Linked DNA regions of Homo sapiens: regions 1, 2, 3 and 4 are each linked to region 5. Evidence: promoter capture Hi-C in 16 types of primary human blood cells and fetal thymus (Javierre and others, 2016). All regions are on one chromosome and are shown on one strand. The core of a region is centred on a gene start or on the middle of the fragment in contact, and the rest is flanking DNA. Distances in the headings are between cores, read along the strand shown. Region 1 has its middle 27 kb from the start of LRRC8B. Region 2 has its middle 9.0 kb from the start of LRRC8B. Region 3 overlaps LRRC8B (leucine rich repeat containing 8 VRAC subunit B). Region 4 has its middle 55 kb from the start of LRRC8B. Region 5 holds the start of LRRC8D (leucine rich repeat containing 8 VRAC subunit D).

Region 1 (2,708 bases), core at 164-2,663, 320 kb after region 5:
TCTTGTGTCTCTCATCAAATACTGTCCAGTTGCCAAGTCTGCATATTCAACTTAAGCTTTTTATATCTCTTTCCAGCTCTTCTCACCTGTGTATCAACAGACGTAAAGCCATTTGTTGTTACATGTCTTTCCTTTTTCTAAAGGGCATTTAGCCTTCCTGCATACATGGTTTAAGTTTTTCAATGGCATTTCTTGAATTAGTTTAATTCTTTTTCCCCCTGGAGAATGTGTATGCATTAAATTAGCAGTTGTACTAAAAACCACAACATAGCTTATTCAAGTCTTGTCTCTACTAGTCATAAGCAATTAATATTGGGAAAATTATATAACCTGTATGTGTCTCGATTTCCTCATTTGTAAAAGGCAATAATATGTACTTCATAGGGTTGTTGTAAGAACAAACTGAAATAATACAATACTTCACACAGTGACTGGAACTTAATAAGATATTGATACATGTTTACTCTTTATTATTGGGATTCAGAAGAGCATATCAGCTATTTCCATGATAATAGGCTCATAGGAGGGGCTAGGACTCATCAGTACACTGCTAAAAGGGAGCTGCAACTGGATGCGTGTACTGGGGTGGATATTTAGGCAAGCCACAGAGGTAGATGCCAAAGCTTGGTGATGCAGCGAAGTCCCACTTATCAGAAGTGGGGCCTGGAGCCAGGGTCGGATTAAGAATGAAGGTCGCCACGTGGAGCTCTGAGATGATGTGGGGATGGGGCAGTCTCAAGCTAGGCCTAGGGACTGAGCTGGCTGGTGTGAACCTGGATACAGATCCAGTGATTCTGGGTGGGGAAGAATATAGAGGTCAGGAACTGGGTTGAGCTAGACCCAGGGCCCTTTATAAATCTATTTTTTTATTAGTCTATATTAGATTTTATGCAATGACTGTTCTGCGGTGAAGGGTCTATGCAAACATACTTCCAAAGGTGAGGGAGCTGAAGAATACAGAAAATGGTGGACAAATCTGTTTTTTCAGAGAGAAACAAATATTTAATAGGGACTTACAAGAAGAAAGAATGTCTCAGGCGGCTGTGAGATGGTGGATCCATGCATTAACCCTCCAGAAAGTATTCTTTTTTAAAAAATTTAAAATTGTAGGTACATAGTAGGTATATGTATTTATGGGATACATGAGATATTTTTATATAGGCATACAATGCATAATAATCACATCAGGATAAATGGGGTATCTGTCACCTCAATCATTTATCCTTTGTGTTACAAATAATCCAATTATACTCTTTTAGTTATTGTAAAATGTACAACAAATTATTGTACCCTGTTGTGCTATCAAATACTAGATATTATTTATTCCCTCTAACTATATTTTTGTACCCATTAACCATCCACCCTCCACCCCTACACCCCCACACTACCCTTCTCAGCCTCTAGTAACCATTGTTCTACTCTCTATCTCCATGAGTTCAATTATTTTAATTTTTAGCTCCCACACGTAAGTTAGAAAAGACAATGTTTGTCTTTTTCTCCCTGGCTTATTTCACTTAACCTAATGACTTCCAGTTTTATCCATGTTGTTGCAAATAACAGAATCACATTCTTTTATGGTTTAACAGTACTCCATTGTGTGTATGTACCACATTTTCTTTATCCATTTCTCTGTTGATGGACACTGAGGTAGCTTCCAAATCTTGGCTATTGTAAATAGTGCTGCAATAAATAAGAGAATGCAGCTCTCACCTCAATATACTTATTTTCTTTCTTTTGGGTATATACTCAGCAGTGGGATTGCTGGATCATATGGTAGCTCTATTTTTAGTTTTTTGAGGAACCTCCAAACTGTTCTTTGTAGCAGTTGTACTAATTTATACTCTGACCAACTCCACATTCTCACCAGCATTCATTATTGCTTGTCATTTGGATAAAAGCGATTTTAACTTGGGTGACATTATCTCTCATTGTAGTTTTGATTTATATTTCTCTGATGATTAGTGGTGTTGAGCACCTTTTCATATGCCTGTTTGTCATTTGTATATCTTATTTTGAGAAAGGTCTATTTAGATCTTTTGCCCATTTTGAAATCAGATTATTGGATTTTTTCCAGCAGAGTTGTTTGAGCTCCTTATATATTCTGCTTATTAATCCCTTGTCAGATGCATACTTTGCAAATATTTTGTCCCATTGAGTTGGCTCTTCACTTTGTTGATTGTTTACTTTGCTGTGCAGAAGCTTTTTAACTCGATGTGATCCCATTTGTCCAGTTTTGCTTTGGTTCCCTGTTCTTTTTTTTTTTTCACCAATTCCTGACCTATTTATTTTTTACTTTTTATTATTTTTTCTTTTTTCTTTTATTATTATTATTATACTTTAAGTTTTAGGGTACATGTGCACAATGTGCAGGTTAGTTACATATGTATACACATGCCATGCTGGTGTGCTGCACCCACCAACTCGTCATCTAGCATTAGGTATATCTCCTAATGCCATCCCTCCCCCCTCCCCCCACCCCACAACAGTCCCCAGAGTGTGATGTTCCCCTTCCTGTGTCCATGTGTTCTCATTGTTCGGTTCCCACCTATGAGTGAGAACATGCAGTGTTTGGTTTTTTGTCCTTGCAATAGTTTACTGAGAATGATGATTTCCAATTTCATCCATGTCCCTACAAAGGACATGAACTCATCATTTTTTGTGGCTGCATAGTATTCCATGGTGTATATGTGCCACATTTTCTTAATCCA
Region 2 (2,700 bases), core at 112-2,611, 310 kb after region 5:
CAGTCTGTTTAAAAACACCAGCCTCATTGGCCTTGTCCCTGAATCTTACACACCTAAATGCAAACACACCTTCCAATTATCTGCTTGTTCTTCTTTTTATCCACTTCTTTGTCTCCATCAAATTTCTGTTTCTGGAGCATATAAAGGCAACAGGACACTTGCTCATAAGAAGCTTGAAGTTTTTAAAACGTAAAATATGCAAGTAAATATGTAGCCAGATATGTGAGCAGATATGGGGGTCCAGTAAAATCCCCTAACACAAGCTATATACAAGGTATATAGATTTACACCTATAACTCAAATGTGCTTTGTAATAGCTGAATGTAGCCTGGCTACCTTATGATAAAGGGTATGAAAATAATGGGTTTTTTTAAACCTCATTACAAAATTGAGGGACAACGATAATTAATTAGTTATTATCTTGATACAGGAGAGATTGGGTTAAAGTGGGAAAAACATTTTTAGAAATAACATCATGCTGAGTGAATTAAAGAACTTAGGGCTTCAGAGGAAGCCTGTTGTTTTAGTAAGCAGAACAGATTTTGGTGGCTGACAAAGACCTCAGTGTAGGTGGGAAAGTTATGGTAGCTTGATTACAAGGAAAGAAGTGGGGACTCATACTAAAAGATGAAAATAGATATATAGGTGGTGGAAATTTTGCAGTTTCATATCTATCTTTGAGTGAACTCAATTTCCAAAATTTCTGGAATTACTTAGTTTATCAATTCAATAAGCAGATATAATATTTTGCTATTCAGGGTCCCCAAGGACAAAAAGGATATGTGCATTCTAACAAAATACAATAACAAAGCGAGCAATTTTTACTTATAAACTAGTTTGTAGTTCATACAAATCACTCAAATAATGTATTATAGCCATTTCTAAACAACATTCTCTTACCCCATGGCCTGTATACCTAAGAGTGACTAATAATCTATTAGCAGTCCCTCGCCTTGCTGAGTCACTCTGTTAAACCTCCTGCAGCTCAGGCACCATTCAGAGGTCCACGAGGTTGGAAGATGACACTTGCTTAACTGCAGATGTCTTACCTCCTCTGGAGGAATGCTGCGACACTGTGTGTGTGAGGAGGGAAAAGGCCAAATTCATCACATGGACTGGTGTATTTCCAGTAACTGGGTCTGTGCTTTTTACCAAGTGGGCACAGAATAAATATTTATTCATTGATGAGTGAATGTATGAAATGAAATGAGGTCTGAGACTTCTGAAACACAGATTTTCTCTATCTTGGGTATTCCAGTCATCCCAGGATTTAACCCCAACTCCATCCACTTTAGGTTTTACAGCTTAACCTGTTCCTACTTGATTGAAAACACATATAGAAGACCAGGGTTTGGAGATAGGAGGGAGTACATGGGGGTGATTAGGGATGACAAAGGAATAATACACCAGTGGCAATATTTGCCAAAGTTAGCTTATTATAAATATATTTGTCATGACTTTGGATGTCCTCATTTCCTCCTCCTGGTAGCATCCTCATCCACGTTGGCAATCACACTACTCTTTTCAACTTGTGTGTTTTGTGACTTTTAAGTATCATAATATCATGAGATATTAGGTTTGGAGATGCTGGAAACAACCATGATGATTAGTATCAAATAGCAAGCCAGTGTATGAACATGTGTCAAAAATTCATGCCTATCTTTAGAAATAGCTACCTAAGCATAGCTTGGATTCTGAAGCAAAACTACTGGGTTCAAATCTTGGCTTTGTCCTTATGAACTGTTTGGTCTTTGTCAAGTTACTCAATTTCTCTGTGCCTTAGTTTGCTGCTTGAGGAACTGATTGTGGTGAGGATCATTCAAATATATAATGTGGTTAAGGCAGTTCTGGGAACATAATAAGTCCCATATTAGTATTAGCTATAATAATAATCTCAAATAAGTCACTTACCTGCTTTGTATTTATAATTTTCATCTTTAAAATGAGAGGCTTTGATTAGTTTGTCTCTAAGGCCCTTGTTTTAGTCCATTTGTTTTTTGATAAAGGAACACCGGAGGCTGGGTAACATGAGTTTCTTTAACTCACAGTTCTGCAGGCTGTACTGGGAGCATAGTGCCAGCATCTGCTCAGCTTCTGGTAAGGGCTTCAGGCTACTTTCATTCATGACAGAGGTGAAGGGGAGTCAGAATATAGAAATTAGATGGTGAGAGAGGAGGCAAGAGAGAGGGGAGGGAGGTGCTAGGTTGTTTATAACAATTGGCTCTTGCAGGAACTAGTAAGAGTGAGAACTCATTTACCTCCCCAGCCGCAAGGAAGGCATTAATCTCTTTATGAGGGAATCATCTCCATGTACCAAACACCTCCCAATAGACCCCACCTGCAACATTAGAGATCAAATTTTAATATGAGTTTTGGGGGAACAAACATTCAAACTATAGCAACCTCCTGAACCTACTGTTTTCAAACAAGGACAATTAATCCATACATTTTTCTACATATATGTGTATGGTTAGAGAAGTGAATGATTAGTTACTAGATGCTTTCCTTGATTGATGGAAGAAAGGTGATTAGGAAATTGAGGCAAGCTTCTTAACTAGACTCTAAATTTCTTGAGTATGTCTTTTCCCCCCTTTGATACTCCAAAGCCTAACATGGTACCTTGGGATAGTGGGCGGTCAATAAACTGTTAATTAACATGAAATAAATGCTTTTTTATTTTGTATGCCTAGGTGTGTGGGG
Region 3 (2,700 bases), core at 156-2,655, 270 kb after region 5:
TGATGACAGGTCACTTCACAACATGCTCCTGTAGTTCTCTATCCCTTCCATTCATAACATTTATCACAAACCTATAAGTAATTGTTTGATTAAAGGTTTATTTCTCTCTGAGGTCTGGTCTACATGTATCATGCTTATCAATGCACCCCAGGGCTTAGCTTGTAGAAGCTGCTACTAAATATTAATTGAACAGATACAAGAGTTTTAATTAGACCTCCTTGTTTGGAAGCAAAAACTGCAAAAATATCTTACAATCTTCATACCTTCTTACCTTCAATTTACATCCCAAATTCTACATGACATGAAAGGCTTCCTGAATCCTTTAGCAGAGACTAAAGACTCCATTTGAGCCCCATCAGCAGAGAAGACGAATTTAGCTCAGCCATAGCATTCAGAATAAGTTAGGGCAGCTCTGGGCACTCTGAAGTGATAGAGTAAGGTTCTTCTAAAATAACGCACAAATAACTAATATGAATCACATAGAATGCCTACATTCCAAAAAAGGTGACAGGTCATTTCTCCACATTAGGCTGGCTTCGGGCTTCATAACTCAGCAGGATTCTGCAGCTTCACTTGGTCTTAGCAAAGAGGAGAAACATGGGCCCTCTGGAAACAGAGTTTCAATGGTTTTCCAGGAGACAAAAGATATACTCCCCATCTGGAAGTTTGACACATGACTTCTAAATCAGGGTGGGGCTCTGTCATAGCTGAGTGACAAAATCAGCTGCACAACACACAGAGTCTCTAAGTTTCTCCTTTATACACAGCAGATGAATCTATGGTTATTTCTTAGCAACCAAATTTGAAGGGCAAAAAGACTGTGCCAAGAAAACTACAAGTGTAGTTTTTTTCCTGTCTTTTCTCTCTCATCCATGCACAAAAAATAATATTTACCTATTTATATTTGACAATACCATCTGTTTTTATTGTGTGGAGAGTCTTATCCATTTAAGGAAGGCAACAACTTTGTGACTCTCAGTTGAAGAAAGGTAGAAATGAAGAAGGCCTTATGTAACACCAACTTGTGTCACCAACAGCAAGTGGAAATATTACATCTTGCACATGCTCTGACACTAGGTGTACTCGACAATCATGATGAAGTTTCTGCTGGGTGCAAAGAACTGGCCCAGGTAATGAAGGCAATCGAAAGGTGTCACACTCAGACCTAAATCTCAAAAGGAGCTTATGCATTGGTGAAAGAAGGCATAAGTACAAGAAAGATCAAACAAATGAATTATACAGTTACATCTTAAAGTAATACATGCTAGAAGAACAATAGTCACTGTACAGGGTTTATGAGTTGGACCAAGAAAGATGCGTAAGATTTATATAGTTAGGGGGTGAAGGAATAAGGGGTAAAAGGGGTTGGTTAATAACAGGGCACATAATATTTTATGTGGAGGAATGGAACAACAAATAAAGAAGGCAAAAGAAAGCCAAGGTCAATTTAATGAATTAGTGAGCAGATGCATAGATGGAGTGGAATTTATGAGACAGAAATGATGGGGCTAAGAGTAGAAAGGTGATTAGGATCAAATGCTAATTAAGTCTCAAATTCCACACTAAAAAATTTTCAAGATTTAACTCAGGCCCAGAACATAACAGGCACCTGAGAAATTATTGCTTTAGGGGGTAAATATGTCACTTTTAGAATATTCAAATCTTTTTACAAGGAGAGAGGAATTTAGGCTTGATATAAGCAGTAGGAAGTCACTGGTGGTATCTGAGCAAGGGAATGACAGAAAAATACATTTAGGGACATACTATTATATATCAAGAAAATTAATTTGAAAGCATCAGAAAGAATTCATTGGAGAGAGTTCAAGATTGACAGCAGGAAGCCTAATTTTATATTAGGGTATATATCTAGGTACCTTGAGAAATAAAACATAAATGGACTTCAAAATTAAAATTCTGAGTAGAAAAATAGTTACGCTTTAAAAAATTAAACTTTCAGATTTAGCCAGTAAACTGATGCAAATGGACAAAGTAATTAGATTTTAAGGAAGCAGACGTTTCCTGAAATTCTTAACTGACTTTTTCCAAAGAGAAATAAATTTGATTTGTACTTTTTTAGACTAGGTAATACCTGAGTACTCTGGTGGAATTAAATACTTAATGGTAAAAATACCACTTTTAGAATAGGCAAAGATTTTGTATGAAGCTGTAACACAGAAGAACAGTCATTTACAACACACACACAAAAGGGTGCCAGATATATTCTGGGCCAGGTTAAACATGCTGAGATCAAACATCAACTTAAGAATACACTGGGCCCTGAATCAATGGAAAAATCATTTGGCATTATGACACTCACCATGCAATCAAACCTCTGTTTAAAATCAAGTTACAATTACTCTAATTATGGACAAACATTTCATTTGTTGCACAACTGGTACCTAATCAAACACTTCTGTAGAAGAGATGATTTCACCACAAGGTAACTTAATTTCAGTGCGAAATAAGTCTTTTAAATTATTTTTAAAGAGTGTTTTTAACCAATTTACATGTCAGAAATTTTATTTCTATAAAAATTACTACATGAACTAAGTCTAAATCAAACAAAAATGCCTTCCTCTACTTTGAAACAATAGTCTTCTCTCATAAACATTTTATTCAAATATTTCCCAGCAACAGGCTTGTGTGCACTAACCAGGAAGTGAAACCAAATATGATCATATTGTGAAAGCAGAGTAAAAT
Region 4 (2,700 bases), core at 35-2,534, 350 kb after region 5:
ATAAAGATTTATATAGTTGGCAAATTTCTTTGCTTTTCTTTATTTTTTAGAAAGTTCATTGTCTCATTTTTTTCTTTTTTTTTATTATTATACCTTAAGTTCTGGGATATATGTGCAGAATGTGCAGGTTAGTTACATAGGTATACACATGCCATGATGGTTTGCTGCATCCAACAATCCGTCGTCTACATTACATATTTCTCCTAATAATATCCCTGCCCTAGACCCCCACCCCCCAACAGGCCCCAGTGTGTAATTTTCCCCTCCCTGTGTCCATGTTTTCTTTACTTTTAACATTTGTTTTCTAGCTCAGAGCTTAGGGCATACATTGATTATTTCTTAAATTTGTTATATCACTTAGGTTTGTTAGATTAATACATAAATAGATTTGGAAGGGTCAAAAAGCTAGAGATTTTTGGAATGTGAGGTTCCTTGTCATTTAATAGAATTTCAAGATATTTCCTGAATACTCTGATACAAATAGACCTTTTTTAGAGAAGAAAAGTTTAGGGAACTGCAGTTACTCATGTATGCTTGGAGAGGAATATTGTCCTCATGGGTTGACCTCGTAGCACTGGCAGCAATACATGAGACTTAGAGGAGACAGGACTCTCAAACCATCCTAGTCAACCATCAGCTCTAAAGATAAATAGAGTGACATATGAGGCAGACAGAAGGCTTTTATTTCCAGAATTTCTGCAGAGGTTTTTGGAGTAAACATTTTGTGCATTTAAAATGTCTCTTAATATTCAGGAATCTTTCTTAGTCTTTGGTTTTGTCTATATTCTGGCCATTTCTAATTTCACCAGATGACCATGGAAGGTTGGTTGGAATTTGGAATGCAGCCCAGGGAAATACTGCTCACCTAAGTAGCTCTTGTTTAACTTTAGTGGAGGAGAAGGTAAAAATGAATGCCCACTCTGTGGATGAAGGTAGGTTTTGGAGCTCATTTATTCATCTCTTTCCCAGGTTGGCACGAATTAAAATAAAAAAATTAATCTCACTCTGTCTCCAGCTATTGTAAAACAATTTCTGATTTTTGTTTGTCTTTTCTTATTCTTTTTCTCAAACTCTCCAGCTTCACTAAATTTAATTTATGATGTTTTAAACTAAATAAACTGAAAAAGACTTCGAGATGAATCATTTTCTATTTATAATTTGTTTAGGTATCCCAGTTTTTCAGTCATATCTCTTGAAAGACTCAGGATTTTTATCATAACCTTTTAAAATTTGGTATATTACCCTTGAGGGGTAAGTGCGATGTTTGCCTAGAATCCTGCAATTTATGAATTTAAACAGCAAAAATAAATCACTACCGGCATTATATTAACAAAAGATTTATAGTCACCACAAAGCTGCAAACAATAAGATGTTGTTATTTAGCTTCAACTTGATTAAAAAACTGAGCAAGTGATTATACATTCATGGCTTTTGCTCCTGTAGCTCAATGTGAAATATAGTATGGGAACCAGTTTTCTAGGTGTTTCGGTTACCTATTATATATAGCTTGGGGTGGTTTGTTACCACCCCATCAGCATTGTTCTGAAGCTGCAATGAGATGGGCAATATAAGGTCTATAAGCATTCAATTATTATGAACTATTATTATTATCTTCCCTTATGATTTCAAGCACATTTATAACATAATAGTTATTTTAACTTGTATTTTCCTAGGCTCCCTGTAGTTTAAACAGCCAGGTTGATGATGATGCCCTTTACTAAAATAGAAGGAATGAGACAAAAATATGTAATTTTGCAAGGAATGATTCTAGAGGCTGTTAAGAATATGTATGAGCATATATTCAATTGTTCATGTATACATGCATAGATTTAATATATGCAGATGTATAACGAGAGAGAGGGAGAGAGAGAAAGAGAGAGGGAGATAATGAGAGAGAGGTAAGGGGTAAATAATTTTGGAGCCAACTATCCCAGCTGATAATGCATAACTAAGACCTTCATTACTCTTTGCTCTTGAAGACAGAAATTTTACCTTATTCATCTTTATAGTTTCTCTAACACACAACATTATCTGTCAACTTCATGTGGCAGGGCATTCATAATTTTTTTTGCTAAACTGTACTAACATATTCCAGCTAGAGTCAGCATGAGAAATAATCTGGAGACAATTTTTGAAGCTCCTCATTATTTCACAGATTCAGTTATTCCAGGTTAAACCATGCCTTTCATTTACTGAGTGTTCTAAATATTCTTCTTTGCTTTCTCAATATGGTAACAGAACACAGAGAAATGTACAATGTGAGTATTCTCTTTGTTTTTTAATGTCAATAACTTCTTTTAGAACTTGAAACAAACGTGTCTGTTTTGTCATTTATTAGTATTCAGTCCTAATTTATATTTATAATTCATAAAATGTTTTATTAGTCATTTCAGAATTTGATAAAAAAATAAACCTTTTAGGTATCACCATTATACTCATACAATCAGTAAGGAAGCATGCTCAGAGTTTAACCATTCAGCTAGTGCATGGTGGAAGTAGGACTTAAACTTTTGTCTTCCAACTTCAGGATGTGTGCATGGCAAGGGCTTCATCAGGAAAAAGCAACTTTGGGGATGTATATGAATTTAAATCATTCCTATTACCTTGAATAAGTTGAAATGATCCTGCATATTTCAAAATGTCTAATTAAAACACTTTAGAAACATCTTTTTTTTTTTTTTGAGGTGGAGTCTCGCTCTG
Region 5 (2,700 bases), core at 124-2,623:
GCCAAATATAAGCCAAGCGGCTCCAGCTGGGCCCCACATTCCGCTAGGACTCCCCAGTACCTATTCCCCATCTCTCCGCCTACATCCTGAGTGCGCCCTCCCTCTCATCTCGGCTGTTTCCTTCCCACAACCCTACCTCCATACTTTCGGCCACACACACCCCAAGTGCGTGCTCCTGGAACCTCACAGCCCACCTCTCCCTCTCCAGCAAGGACCTACCTCTCTTCCCCTCGACCTGCAGCAGTTCTTCTTCACTGCAGCTGGCTTTTTAAGAAATCAAAAAATCTCATTTATCTGCAAGGGATACCCCCTAGTAAAGGGTGACGGAAAGGAGAAGGCCCCTATCAACCCTCCAGTAACTGGAGGTGCTGGTCCTCCCGGCAACCACCCCCAATTCTCCTCCTTTTCAAGCCCCTGGACAGGATTTGAGCAGAAGTCCCGCTCCCAAGAGCCCACGCCTCCAAACAAGCTAGAAGCGGATTATACCGGTACCCAACCCGGAGACGGCCCGCGGACGGCTGGGTGCACCTGCGGGCCCCCAGCTCCCTCCCACAGGCGCGGGGGGCGGGGCGCGGGCCTTCACCTCCCCGCCCCCGCCCGCCGGGCTCCCAGCGCAGCCCACCCTGCACAGGAAGGAAGCGGAGGGGAGGCGATTCTGGAGAAGTTAAAGGGCTCACCTTTGGACGCCGGGCCAGCAAGGCCAGACACCAAACACCCACCTCCGGGAGGAACCAGCAGAGCCGAAACCGGCTCTCCCCGCCTTTCCGATAGGGCGGAGGGAGGTGAGAGAAGGGAGCGCGCGCGAGGGGTTCAGGAGCCAGGAAGCCGCACTCCCCTCCCGCAGGGCCGGCCGCCCGGGGCCGAAGCGGCCGACGCTCAGACTGCAGAAAGCGGAACAATCTCCCAGGCCCTGGCGGCAGCAAACGGGAGCCCACTCCGCTCGCCGCCACCTCCTCCCGACCCCCGGACGTCCCCGAATGAGTTCCCGGCCGCAACCGCAGCTCGGGCCGCGGCGCCTGCGCCAGGGTTGCGCGCTCCGGCTCGGCGCGGCTCCACCTGCGCGTCGCCTTCCCTCGCAGCCCCCGGCCCCTGCCGGGAGAGGTGCGCACCAACCTTGGGGTGCAGCTCGGCCGCCAAGCCACGGCTTATGCTGAGGCCGGAGGTGGCGGCATCACCCGCGGCGGGCGGCGGCTGCACCGGGACGCGCCGGGGCGGCGAAGGCGCGCTGCACCCTGGACCCTGCTCCCGCGGCCCCGCCCGCGGCTGCCACCTCGAAGCGCGGCGGAGGAGCCGGGGCACCACGGGCGGCGGCAGCGGCAGCGGCAGCAGCGGCGACGGGAGCAGCAGCACATGACTCTGTAACGAGGGGAATTAGACAAAGCGTAACATGGACTCCGGGCCCGTGCAGGCGCTGCAGCTCTGGGACCAACCGCAGCCGGCGAGTGCCGCGACTGGCCCGGCCGCAGCCAATGGGGCGGGCCCGGGCCTCCATGTGATTGCGAGCGCTTTCTCCGGTGGCCCTGCAGCGCCTGACCGGACGGGGTCTGTGTGGCGAGGGAGGGGACCCGGGGTTGGAGACTGGCGGCGAGCGACTGCTAGATGCGGAGCAGGTGCTTGGGAGGGGAAGAACGGCAGCCTACATAACCATCGCCGTAATGCTCTCGCAAGCGTCCACCTGGGCAGGGCTCGGTGCCGGGCAGGCGCAGCTGCCAGTTAGCTGCGAGGCATGGTCAGGAGCCTTCACCCGTCCTGGGCGAAGGAGGCTGTCCCGTCGACTAAAACTCTGATATTAAGACTTGGCGCTGGGGGTGGGGAGTTGAATTACGTTAAAAAGTCACTTAAGTGCCTTCCAACTCTAAGGAGAAGTACTTATCTGAGCTTTGGGGCACACACAACTACTACTTGGCATGGAGAGTTTCTCAGCTTCATGTGTTCCGTCTGTTATTGAAGCTGTATTGGAAAGTCGGTTCTTGTTTTTATCTGAGCCCGCCGTTTTCATCCCATTCTTTTCGTCAAAAATATGTTACATCTGAAAGAGGCAGATGAAAAGATTATTCTATGCTAAGAGGGTTTTGCAGCCCGATAATGTCACCGTTTTTTGTTGTTGTTGTTGTAGGATCGGGGTTCATTTGCAGTCTTTTTTGTGGGTGAGCAGAGGCAGGGGCCAATAAATAAATTAAGGCGGGATATTTGGAGTTATTTGGTTGTAATAAAATATGTGGTTCAACCCAGTGCTTTCATATCTTCTTTTATCTGAATCCATGTGTTTCTGTAAACCATCGGAAGTCTAATCTGTCTTCTACCAATATCTCTCCATGTCAGCAAATGTTCAATCAACGTTTACCCAGCATCTAAATATTCTTAATAAGCATGCTGCACAAATGTTACAGGTACTCAGGAAGGTGTCGGTTCAGAGACAGTGAGACATTAAAGAGAATGATTGTCCAGGGTTTCAGAAAAGGATTCAGAGAGGAGCTGATAGAATTGACCCTTGGATGGTGAGCACTTGGCCCTCAGGCATTGGACGTGAAGAAGAGCAGCCCAAACAGGAACATGAACAGAGAGGTCCAGAATACACTCAAGGGACTGCCCGAGACCCGTTACAAGATGCCACCAGATTCTGAGCCCTCGGCCCTTTTGCTCTCACTTTCCTTCCCCGACCCTCCTTGCCAGCAGCCACTCCTGTTCCACACACTGCCA

The links. The method cuts DNA at HindIII sites, captures the fragments that hold promoters and counts their contacts. A CHiCAGO score of 5 or more calls a contact.
Region 1: a contact is called between a fragment that was not itself captured here and the fragment with the promoter of LRRC8D in region 5, in 1 of 17 cell types (activated CD4 T cells). The highest score is 5.8, in activated CD4 T cells.
Region 2: a fragment that was not itself captured here is called in contact with the fragment with the promoter of LRRC8D in region 5 in 12 of 17 cell types (activated CD4 T cells, total B cells, non-activated CD4 T cells and 9 more); the score reaches 8.0 in activated CD4 T cells.
Region 3: a contact is called between a fragment that was not itself captured here and the fragment with the promoter of LRRC8D in region 5, in 5 of 17 cell types (monocytes, total B cells, M1 macrophages and 2 more). The highest score is 6.5, in monocytes.
Region 4: a fragment that was not itself captured here is called in contact with the fragment with the promoter of LRRC8D in region 5 in 3 of 17 cell types (activated CD4 T cells, non-activated CD4 T cells and naive CD4 T cells); the score reaches 7.1 in activated CD4 T cells.

Annotation. Positions count from the first base shown.
Region 1 is chr1:89,496,745-89,499,452 of GRCh38, reverse strand. No RefSeq gene overlaps it. Among named protein-coding and RNA genes, the nearest start is that of LRRC8B, 27 kb to the left of the region's middle. The HindIII fragment of the contact is 1,576 bases long and covers 626-2,201 here.
Region 2 is chr1:89,514,526-89,517,225 of GRCh38, reverse strand. No RefSeq gene overlaps it. Among named protein-coding and RNA genes, the nearest start is that of LRRC8B, 9.0 kb to the left of the region's middle. The HindIII fragment of the contact is 2,374 bases long and covers 175-2,548 here.
Region 3 is chr1:89,552,963-89,555,662 of GRCh38, reverse strand. The region is part of intron 1 of LRRC8B (leucine rich repeat containing 8 VRAC subunit B); the gene reads right to left. Among named protein-coding and RNA genes, the nearest start is that of LRRC8B, 29 kb to the right of the region's middle. The HindIII fragment of the contact is 2,997 bases long and covers 1-2,700 here.
Region 4 is chr1:89,468,104-89,470,803 of GRCh38, reverse strand. No RefSeq gene overlaps it. Among named protein-coding and RNA genes, the nearest start is that of LRRC8B, 55 kb to the left of the region's middle. The HindIII fragment of the contact is 4,080 bases long and covers 1-2,700 here.
Region 5 is chr1:89,819,705-89,822,404 of GRCh38, reverse strand. It overlaps LRRC8D (leucine rich repeat containing 8 VRAC subunit D), which reads right to left and starts at 1,373. Exons shown (of 3, transcript NM_001134479.2): 1 at 1,114-1,373. LRRC8D-DT (LRRC8D divergent transcript) reads left to right here and starts at 611. Exons shown (of 1, transcript NR_185885.1): 1 at 611-2,231. RefSeq lists silencers at 404-623, 495-704, 795-894, 995-1,344, 1,785-1,844. The HindIII fragment of the contact is 10,555 bases long and covers 1-2,700 here.